Regions from separate parts of the Homo sapiens genome. Here regions 2 and 3 are each linked to region 1. Evidence: promoter capture Hi-C in 16 types of primary human blood cells and fetal thymus (Javierre and others, 2016). All regions are on one chromosome and are shown on one strand. The core of a region is centred on a gene start or on the middle of the fragment in contact, and the rest is flanking DNA. Distances in the headings are between cores, read along the strand shown.

Region 1 (3,739 bases), core at 328-2,827:
CCAAGAGTTGAACCACCTAAGGCGGAGTTCAAACAAAGGCTGAAGCAGGAAGGTTTGCTGGGGGAAATCAGTGGGGTCCCCTGAGCAGCGTGAAGTCATCAGGCCAAGGTAATGCTTCCCAGAGGTGTAACCGCTGTGTGTGTGTGTGGCGTGGCGGGGGGGGGCGGGGGGAAGGGGGCGGAAACGCGCAGTACTTTGCAGGTCAGCCCCTGGGGACTGGGATGGCTGACTACCTGGTATTGCACTAAAATGCTTGACCCCTAATCACATCCCCCAACACTACACCTTGTGCGACGTGATGAAAGCATCATTTCCAGTTTATTCGACTTTTCTGTTTAGACTTATTCATTATAGCCCATATATGTGATAAGGACTAAGAACCCAGTCTTCAAGGTCCTGTCGAGTTCCAAAGAAGTCCACCCCTCAGAAGATCCTTGGAAGGGGAAGAAGGAAAAAAGAAAGAAAGAAAAATCTGTTTTACCCTATAACAATTTCAGCGCAATCTCCCAAGACCAAGTTGGTTAATTTGTAAAGTCACTCTCATTTTTTCCTCAACAGTGCCACCTACTGTCCATTTTCAGTCATCAGCAGGCTTGTTGGCAAGGTCCAAGAGAAAGAAAGGAGGCGGAGTGGTGGGGGGAGGAGTAACCAAAAAACGAACTCTACCCAGCCTTGGGGCATTGTGAAAACGACGAGGAAAGGCCATCTCCAAGCAAGACATATTTGTCCTCGTCAACTTTGCAGAAGGCTTGCAAAAAGCAAAAGCCAGTTAAGCCATTTCCTTCAAGATGGCTAAATATAAGTCCTCCAGAAAACAATTTTTATTATTTTATTTTTAATGCGCGCTGTTTGAGTATGTTTACGTTAGGGGACCAGATTGAGCAAAAATATACATATAATTACTTTTCTATGTTTTCCGCCCACCCACGGCAGAAACCTCTTTATGAGAAAGGCTTTGACACTTGACGTCAGCTCAGAAACTTTTGAGTTGGCGGGAAGAAAGGGTTAACAAGTGGTGGACCAGCGCGATCTTTTTAGAGTCCCAGCCGGCTGTCGAAGGCTCCAGGTACACACACACACGCACACACTTACACACACACACACACACGTGCACACACCCCTCCCAACTGTTCCTCCTTGGGTCGGTTACTTAGCTGAAGGGCACCATTTGGCTTTAAAACAAATTACTTCAGCGCCACAGGGAGTTTATCGCTTGGAGGGAACTTGTAACGCGGGAGTTCAGGGAAATCCAAGAGGCGAGGGCTCCCACCTCCGCCGCCAGAGGAAAGTAAGGAATCAGGTGGTGGCCCCCTATGTGTCTTGCATTTCTCTGCACACGTTAGCAATCAAGTTAATTGAATTCATTGGAGTTTAGAACCGGCCTGTAGCTCAGAGAAGGCTTTGAATGGCCAATTTCTCTCTCTCCCTCTCCCCCTCCCCGCCTCCCGCTCGCCCGCCCGCCCGCGCTCCCAGTTCCCTCCCCTCAGGGTTCCCCAGTCCACACCTCCCTCTCCACTTCCCTCACCCCCCCACTCCCTCCGCCGCCCTATTAAAACACCCACCAGCTCACTTGTTAAGACCCCCTTAAGTTGGAGGAGGCAGAAGGGCAACAACGGCGGGGAAGGAGAAGTCAAGACGTCTGGAAAGAATTACCCAGTCCTGGCTTCGAGCAGCCCATTGAACCAGAGACTTGAAACAGCCCCAGCCAAAGACTTTTCTCCCAATTCTGCGCTTCCTGGGTTCTGCTGAGTCTTCCACAGGCTTTTTTTTTTTTTTTTTTTTTTTTTAAGACGAAAAAGAGATTTTCTGTTATCGGGGGCAGAAAGACTGAAGCCCAAAAAAAAAAAAAAAAAAAAAAGAAAAGAAAAGAAAAAAGAAAAGTTAATTTATTTTTAAAGCATAATTTTTTTAAGAATTAGACTGAAGTGCAACGGAAACATAAAGAGAATATTAGTGAAATTATTTTTTAAAGTGGGGAAGAATCAAACATTTAAGACTCCCCTATCCTTTTTAAATGTTGTTTTTAAATTTCTTATTTTTTTTGGCCGGTCGTCTCAAATTCATCTGATCTCTTATTACCTCAATTTTGGAAACTGCCCGCCACCGACCCTCCGGGACCACACAGACAGGCTGAGGACGACTTTATGACCAAGAGCTGAACAAGGTACGTTACACTGGCGCGTTTTGGTGAAGGATGAAGGTCCTCCAACAGGCCAGGGAGAAGGAAGACATCCTTATAATTGTTTTAAAATTTTTAAGCCAGTTTCGATAGAAAAGTTGGAAGTTTAAAAATTTCCAACAGACTGAAGATCAGGGAATATTTCAGGTCACTGTCAGGCTTAGCAACATAGCCCTCTTTTCCCATTTCTGCGGCTCTCGCCAGAAATCCGCTGCCTTTCTGGGGACACAGGTAGCCTCTCTGCCTGGGAAAGGCTGCACGTCCTCAGATGTACTTTTCCATTTTGCATCTTCCGGAGCAGCAGAGGGGCTCCAGAGTTAGGAAACAAGAATTCCCAATGTAAGGAAAATGCATTCTGCACAGCCGCCCCACCCCTTCCCTTCTTTTTTTCCCACACACACACACACACACACACACTGTGGGGAGAAAAACTGGAATAGCCCAGCGCGTTTTACTTCTAAGTGAAAAAGTCGCTTCTTGCTGGGAATGCAAAGGGTTAAGCAATCTGGGCTTCCAGCTCCGACAAGCTGGGACCCTGGAGAAGGAGGGTCCTTCTCTACCTCCTCGCAGCTACCATCCCCTCTCGGCCACTCCCCCCTTTCCCGGGCCTCCCCTCCTTTGCACTTCCCGCACCCCATTAAAGTGTCAGGCTCGTCAGTCTGGGCTTACTCGGGCCAGGGGTCCCTGACGCAGGCGGTGGCACCCGCAGATAGGAGCGGGAGGAGGGCGCGCATCCCTCCTCTCCTCGCCGGGCCAGCCCGCCGGCCGCCCGGAGGCAGGGCGTGCGTGGGGACCGCGCGCTGCGCTTCGGCAGCTGCGGCGTCCCCAGAGCCAATTCCGACGTGGCACCGCGCACGCCGGCGCTTCTCTCCTCAGCTGCAGCTGGGGACACTGCCCGGTGGGAGATCTGGGGGCGCCGTCTCGAGCGCCCAGCCGATGAACGGGGCGAGGGGCCTGTGGGAGCTGGGGTGGAGGTGGGAGGGAAGCCAGAGGCTGGGTTGGGATGGATAATCAACACCTTGGGGGGAATTCGTCACGGCAGTTCCCGCCCAGCGTGAGCCAGGGCTCCGAAATGGGTCCCTGTGAACAGGAGGGCGGGTCTGAAAGGAGGGTCTGTATGAGGGTGAGAACCGGGAGGCGAAAGAGCCTTTTTCCTCTGACCACGGAAACGCAGCCGCGGGGGAACGGCGCTGAAAGGATAATTAAAGCTGCAAAGAGGCGCTGGGAGCACAGGGGCGGTGCCTGGGGAGGAGGACTTGCAAGACCTGTGTCCTATTACACAGTCTTAGGTGCCAGTTCCCCTAGCGCCTCTCCCTCCGTCCCCCAAACGTCCGCGCTGAATACTTGGACTCAAGGACACCGCGCGCCTCTGGGGCGAACGAGCTGCAGCAGCCCAGCTACGGGAGGGAACGTGTAGAAGCCCCATCAGCCTCTCCCTGCCCACTCCCTCACCCTTGGGACCGTTGCTGCCTGTTGGGTCTCAGGAGCAATTGCCCAGAAACGCGACGCTGCTCCAACCCACGTGTCTGGGCTGGGATTGCCTTTGACGTCACACACGGG
Region 2 (3,739 bases), core at 926-3,425, 690 kb after region 1:
TCAATCTCAACTCTGCAAGCCAGCAGACTCCTAAAACACACATCCAATTAAAGACCTGTGGTCACTGATTTCCCATATCCTTAAGATAAGCTCCAAACCTACACACAGGGGATACAAGATTGGCAACTGGCCTCTCTTCACCTCACCCTCTACCTCCTTCTCCCTGTTGCATCCTCTCCAGTTCTGGACAGACTGAATGTTCACTCCCCTCCAAAGGGCCTCACTCCTGCTTACCCTAAGGTCTCCACGGAGGTGCTTCCTTCTTCCCACCGCACTCCCCACCACCCCAGCATGGTCATATCCTTACCTAATTCATGCCCCCATCCTGCTTTCTATTTCGATTCAAGCTACACTTACAGGGCCCCCATCCGAACACAAGGCAAGCTGTCATGTCCCGTAACATCAGCTGCCCTGCACTCACTGCTATTTTGCAATCATTAATTTCCGTGCACTCTAATAGGCAATGCTTTCACTGAAAGCTGGATTGTATCTTTCATAGTTAGAGGTTTATACCCCCAGGACCTAGCACATAGTCACTTGACCCATAATAAGCACTTAACTATAAATGAATTAATTCAGATGGAAGCTTACTTCTGGGTATCTCTTGGGCTCCTCTGCAAGGCACTGATGGGTACAGGCAAACTGAATAATCTGAAAGAATTACACTAAAAAAAGAGTATTTTCAAAAGAGTGAGCAGAGCTTATGGAAGGCAACAAGGCCGGGGCAGCATCCTGGGGACAGGGACACCAGGGAGCACTCACCACACCTTGGGTGTAAAGGGGAAGAGAAGGGAGCCGTGGGTAGTCAGGATCTACCCAGAGACAGAACTGGATGGAGAAGGATAACTGGCCAGATGCAAACCAGACATAAGCCTGCAGCTCAGGAGGGAGTTGGGGAATAAATACTCCAAGTTCTCTCTCTTACCCACTGGCATCTCCTATTGGTGGCATCCATGGCCTGAACCAAACCAAATTCAACAGCAAAAGAACACAGTGATGGGTCCACATAAACCAGGCTTCCAGTGTGCAGAGCAGGGTGGAGACGAATGGAGAGGAGTAGAATCAGAGCACCAGCACTGCATTAGCAGAGGCAGGTTTCAACTTTTTTTGCCCCATATCCTCTCAGTGCCCAGTACATACGGTGTGTCCGAAACATTTATGAAAATGAATAAGGTGAATTGAACTGAACTGAGTTGAACTGCTTTGAACTGAATGGAACCAACCAGATTGCTGAATAGTTTCCAAGTCAGGATTTGTCCCATCTTCAAGTTATAATCATGGATATTGCACCCCTGATTCCTGATACACTCACGCCAAGCCTCTGGGTTTAACACAATTAGGAAGGCATAACATCCCATGTTCCAAGCAATTGCAGTGAAGCCTGCAGTTTACTGTTACATGACATTTTATATGACTTGATGTTTTATCTTTAATGACTGGGTCTCCCTTCCCCCAAAGCATATAGGGCATAATTTAGGCAAAGAAATATTGGTTACATCTGCAGTTTCAAACCAAAGAGGTAGTTAATGTTGCAGGTTTATATACATGCATTAAAATAAAAAAAGTGAAACTTTTACTTGAGATTTCTTCATGCATTTAGTGGCAGCATCTATAAAGGCCTCCAGGTGCTGGTATTGGCTCGCACACGGCAGCACCTTGTGAATTATCCAGCTGGCAATTCACGGAGTGCAGCTTGTCAGAGCACAGAACCATTTGAATGGCAGCTCATGCTGGCGCAGGTGACATGCCAAAGGCAAGTCACTGGCATCCATTAGGAGGGCAGTCAACAGAGTCCAGGAGTAAAAAGAGTCAGTCAGGCTGAGTCACAGTGACTCAAAAATAGCCTGCCCAATAATCAGTTATCTTAGTGGAAAAAATTGCCAGACTTTTAATTTCAGGTAACAACCTGGTTATTGGATTATCCTGCTTAACCCGTTTTGTTATTTTAATGTGGGTCCACTTTAAGAAAAATAATATTTAAGCCCAGAAATGAAATTTGAACATAAGGTGAACAGTTGGACTAGAGGGTCTTTTATGACTCCAGCACTAGAAACAGGACGCACATCATCTGCTATAGGAGAACTACTCCTTGACAGACTTTCTGTATAATAATGAAAATCATAACAGTGATTTCACCCACCATTTAAAGTATTCCATGCAATTAAATCATGCTATAAAAGGATTATAATGGCTGTACATGGGATAAAAACCACCTACTTTGATGTCAAGGTTCTCTGAGTCTGAACTGATAGGACAACACACACACACACACACACACACACACACACACACGAAAAAAATAACAGAATTCATGTTTTGTACCATCAGCTATAAAATAACATCATGATCTAATCAGTTGTGTCACATACGGCAACTCAAAAAAATTACAGCATTCCCTAAAACCTACCTCTTCTACATATTTCAACAGAAGAGTGATTTTAAATTCTGTCAAATAGCATTAAGTGGGGTAGAAATTTGAAAATGGTGAGGAGAATCTTTAACCCAGAAGTATAAATTTTATTTTAATTAAAGCTATTCAGAAATTATTAGCCCCTTGGAAAGTCCTGAGAGAGGTACTGGAACCAAAAGAACAAAGGCAAGGAGGAGGAACACACTTGAATGACAGCCAGGTGAACACCCTTGTTGGCGGGGGGGGGTCTCTGATAAACCCACGAGTGCCCCTCTACTCCCTAAAACCTACACTTGAACACCTGCCACGACAGAAAATACTGAAGTCAGATTGAGACAGCACCAAATAGGTGACACCCTCCCTCTCCTCCCCCCTCATCCTCTTCTCCTTGGGCCATACCCTGGAAGAAAATGAAGGAAAACTGGTAAGCAGTACAGTGAGATGGGAGGGCCCACCTCTTCATGGTCACATGATCGTGAACTACAGCTCAGACCTGACCTTGGTGGAGGGAAGAAACTCTAATGAGGATCTGAGATCAAAGTTTTGACTTGGACCACACTAGATTTTTCAATACCTGAAATGAGACATTTTTGATGTTGAAAGTGACTTGGTAGTCATAGGATTTTCCTAAGAGATTATCACAGGACAGGAAAGTGAGAGTCAGTGGATCAGAGAGGGCAGCAGGTAGCAAAAAAATGATGTTATCATTTTTTCTGTGCACCCAATTAATACTAGCAAGAAAATGGTTACACATGGTACTGAGAGTTCATAGTCCCAACAGCCAATATTAATACCAATATTAATATTGACCTCTGCCCCCACTGCTCCCTGAGCCACACAAAGCACTGTATGAGGCTCTCCATGCAAGCTCCGTGCCCTCCTTAAGCCAATCCCTTCCTGCAAGGAGGAGTTTCTCTACTTGGTCAGTCTGAGTCACGCACACATTCATGAATTGAAGACAAAGCCACAGGATTGAAGTTCCTACTGGTTCTATTGTAATCAAGTAGAGGGTTAAGAAGCATTTCCCAAAAGGAAGGGATGCTGAAAAAGAAAAAAAAAAAAAAAAAAGATGGACCTTACAATACCAAACGTGTGGCCTACCACATCAGCACACCCGTATTTACTTGTTCTGTTGTCAGTTGTCAGAAATCATCTACTTCTGCCTTTTAAACTAACCTACTTTTTAAACTTTTTTTCTTGAATAGTAGGATTGATTCAGAGAATCAAGGAGCAGGATGTCAGCAAGGCAGAGTAAACGTGAGGTAGACTTAAAGCAAACTGATGTAAATTTAATTCCTGGTTCTTCCAGCAACCTGTACTATTTGTGAC
Region 3 (3,739 bases), core at 813-3,312, 660 kb after region 1:
AGAAAGAGGCATTTACTAAGCATATAATGCCTAAAAATATGGGCCCAGCTAACTCATTGGATCCTGAAAGCAATTTAGGTTTGGTTTTACACCATCTGCAACCTCTCAGACTTCAGAAGCTTTGAATCAGTACTGCACCACCTTGCCATATATCGGGCACAAATATAAAAAGGAAAAGAAAAATCAAGCCATAACTCTGGACTCCATCCAGGAAACTTTATCTTGAGGTTAAAGTTTTATAAAATGTCTCTCTTCTGAAAATTAATGGAGTAATCATACCCTTGCCCATGTCAGACCTCTACAGTCTCTTCGATGTTTTCGTGTTCTAATGGAAACTCTTTAACCCCAAGTCCTGACCCCTCTAACCCTTGTGATGTTCTCCCCTGGTGGCCTCAAAAATATGGCTTCCCTTTCTCCAGTTTAATCAAACACTTTCATCCCTTCCCTTTTATTTCTATCACCAATCAGTAGCCACAGATGTGTCTCATGAGTTCTTACTATCCAGCATATAAAACAGGACAAAGGAAAACTACCATAAAGGGAAATAGTGATAAACTGAACTTTACTAAAGTTAAGATCCAAAGATATCACTGAGGGAGTGAAAAAGCTGTGAGAATACGTTTATAATAAATAAATCTGACAAAGAACTTGTATTTAAATTTTTTTAAATCTACATCAAAAATAAAGGACAATACAATTTTTTCAAGTAGGTGAAAGACTTAGTTCACAAAAGAAGGATACTTAGCTAAAAATAAGCATAGAAAAGTTGATCAACGCGATGAGGTATTGGAAAACTGCTCATTAAAACCACAGTGATGAAATATTTATATATCCATTAAAATGACTAAAATTTTAAAAATAACAATTGAATGGATCAGTGTTAGAGAGTATGTAGAGAACTAGAGTCCTCTTATTTTGCTGGTGGTCCAGTAAATTGGTACAACTACTTCAGAAACTATTAGATGCTTTCTACTAAAACTGAATAGATATGTATCCAATGACCCAGCAATTCCTCTCCTGATACATTCCCAAAAGAAATGCATAAGTGTACAGATTTGTGCAAAAGAGATATTCAAGAATGCTTAAAGCAGTATTATGGTGAATAACCAAAAATGAGAATTGACCCAAAAGTCCATAAACAGTGGAAAATAACATTGTGGTAATATATTCACACAATGGGATACAATACTGCAATAAAAGGAAGAAACAACTGCTCTATGCAATGGTATAAATGAATTTCAAAAACATGATGTTGAGCAAAAAACACAAATTCTATGATTCCTTTCATGTAAAATTCAGAAAGACAAAACTAGCCTAGGGTAACAGAAGCCAGGATATGGTTATCTTTGGCACAGGTAGGAAGGGCTGAAGGAGGCAGGGATGATTCTGTACTATTGACAGTGTTCTCTATTTTTATCTGGATGGGGTTACACAAATGTGTTCACTCTGTAAAGTTCATTAAGTTTTAAACTTAAGGTTTGTTCACTTTACCAAATGTAGTTTGTATATCAATTTAAAAATATACAAGGAAGTCCATATCCTTCTTCATATTTCTAATTAGAACTTCTGAATTCCATACAACCAAATCTGTGGCTTTAGGGTAAACTTGGAAATATGACTGGAATGCAACCATCCACACAGAGCATTCCCATTCTCCATATGCACAAGGCTACCTTTTTTCATTTTTCAATTGAGCATTCTCTGAGTGATGGTTTGTGGGTACCATCACGGACAGAAATGAAAAGCAAGAGGTGAGTTCCTAAAACACTCATAAAATAGGAAATATGCATAGACTACTAAACATAAAACAATGTGCTTTAAGTGCATTATTTAATTTAATCTTCACAATAAACATTTGAAATACATACCATTATTATCCCTATTTTAGAGGTAAGAAAACGAAGGGCCAGAAATGTTTAGTCTCTTGTCAAGGTTTACACTGCTGACAAGTGGCTAGAGTCAAGATTTAAACCCAAATATGTCAATTTACCATGTCAACTCCAGGGACTACGTTATTAAACACTAGCTTACCCTGCCCTCAATAAAACTGAGGATGTGGGAAATATATTCTCTCTTCCCTGTCTGCCCAAGGAAGAACTTTGTAGTAAGGAAATAGGTGGAAAGTCATGCAGACATTTCATTTTCAGAGCTCCATTCTGGCCAGGAACGCTTAGTCCTCTATCTGGGCATGCCCTCTCTATGGAAAGCATTTGTCCAACATGGAATGGAAAGACAGCATGCAGCCTTTAGAGTCTGAAAGATTTCAGAGCTCTTCCTCTTGTGTGCTCTTGGACAAATCCATTTCCCCATCTATCAAATGATGAAGATGGATCTTTTTCATAAAGTTATTCAGTGAATTAAAATGGAAAATGTCTATTGTCTTAAACTGATGCATTGGGAAGTTTTATGTTTTGCTTTTTAAAAAATTTAATTATATTTTATGTTATTTATTTATTTATTTTTGAGGTAGAGTTTTACTCTGTCACCCAGGCTGGAGTGCAATGGCGCAGTCTTGGCTCACTGTAACCTCTGCTTCCTGGGTTCAAGTAATTTTCCTGCCTCAACCTCCCAAGTAGCTGGGATTACAGATGCCTGCCACCACACCTAGCTAATTTTTGTATTTTTAGTAGAGATAGGGTTTCACCATGTTGGTCAGGCTGGTCTCAAACTCCTGAACTCAGTGATCCATCTGCCTTGGCTTCCCAAAGTGCTGGGATTACAGGTGTGAGCCACTGCACCTGTCCTATTTTATGTTTTAGAGATAGTGTCTGATCTCTGTCACCCAGGCTGGAGTGCAGTGGCATGATCATAGCTCACTGTAACCTCAAACTCCTGGGCTCAAGCAGTCCTCCAGCCTCAGCCTCCCGAGCAGCTAGGACTACAGGCATATGACACCACGCCAAGCTAATTTTCTTATTTTTTGTAGAGACCAGGTCTTGCTCTGTTGCCCATGCTGGTCTTGAACTCCTGGCCTCAAGCAATCCTCCCATCTTGGCCTCCCGAAGTGCTGAGATTACACCTGTGAGCCACTGCACTGGGCCATGCTTTTGTTTTTTAACCACAGTGGAGCATAACCTATGTTGTCCGACATATATTCCTTTGAGATGTCTCTTAACCCTCACAATAGTCCTGGGATGTATTTCAGAGAGGTGATTAACTTACAGATTAACAGTGTTTAAATTAAAGTTTCTCAAACCCTCATCCGCTGCACAAAACTGCTCTAAATTCCTTTCCTCGTTCCTCCTTATGTGACCTTGCCTAAACCATTTGGAAGAACACTCAAGTATTTTGTTTCCTTTTAAATTTCGAATGCATACTAAATTTAAAAGGAGAAAGCAGCTACATTCCTGCTTCCTTCCTTCTGGATCTCATCCTGATCCTTCTCAATAATTCATAGCTAAATAATTATAGTTACCACTTAAGCATCACCTTATTGGTGACACATCTTAATATGCAATCATTTTTGCCCAAAACCTTTCTGTTCCTTTTATTACCCTCTTCACAATTTGCCGTCATTACCCACCCAATTTTACAAATTGGTAACCTCAGAGTCAACTATGGTTCTTTACTTCCCTTCAACCCATAAAGTCACTGTTTCAAGACAGATTCTGAGTTTAGCCCACTGTCTCAAAACCTTCCTACTGCAGGTAGTTCTTGCAATCTGGATTTTTAGCCATTCAGTTGCGTGTGGCATCTTCTCACCTAGTCCCTCTGTTTCCTTCTCTCCTCTCTCCTCTCA

The links. The method cuts DNA at HindIII sites, captures the fragments that hold promoters and counts their contacts. A CHiCAGO score of 5 or more calls a contact.
Region 2: a contact is called between a fragment that was not itself captured here and the fragment with the promoter of HAS2 in region 1, in 2 of 17 cell types (M0 macrophages and M1 macrophages). The highest score is 6.6, in M0 macrophages.
Region 3: a contact is called between a fragment that was not itself captured here and the fragment with the promoter of HAS2 in region 1, in 1 of 17 cell types (M0 macrophages). The highest score is 5.1, in M0 macrophages.

The regions. Positions count from the first base shown.
Region 1 is chr8:121,639,278-121,643,016 of GRCh38, reverse strand. HAS2 (hyaluronan synthase 2) reads left to right here and starts at 1,577. Exons shown (of 4, transcript NM_005328.3): 1 at 1,577-2,164. It also overlaps HAS2-AS1. RefSeq lists enhancers at 295-918, 3,120-3,620, 3,621-3,739. The HindIII fragment of the contact is 9,649 bases long and covers 1-3,739 here.
Region 2 is chr8:120,952,346-120,956,084 of GRCh38, reverse strand. No RefSeq gene overlaps it. Among named protein-coding and RNA genes, the nearest start is that of SNTB1, 140 kb to the right of the region's middle. The HindIII fragment of the contact is 3,174 bases long and covers 589-3,739 here.
Region 3 is chr8:120,978,228-120,981,966 of GRCh38, reverse strand. No RefSeq gene overlaps it. Among named protein-coding and RNA genes, the nearest start is that of SNTB1, 170 kb to the right of the region's middle. The HindIII fragment of the contact is 3,881 bases long and covers 122-3,739 here.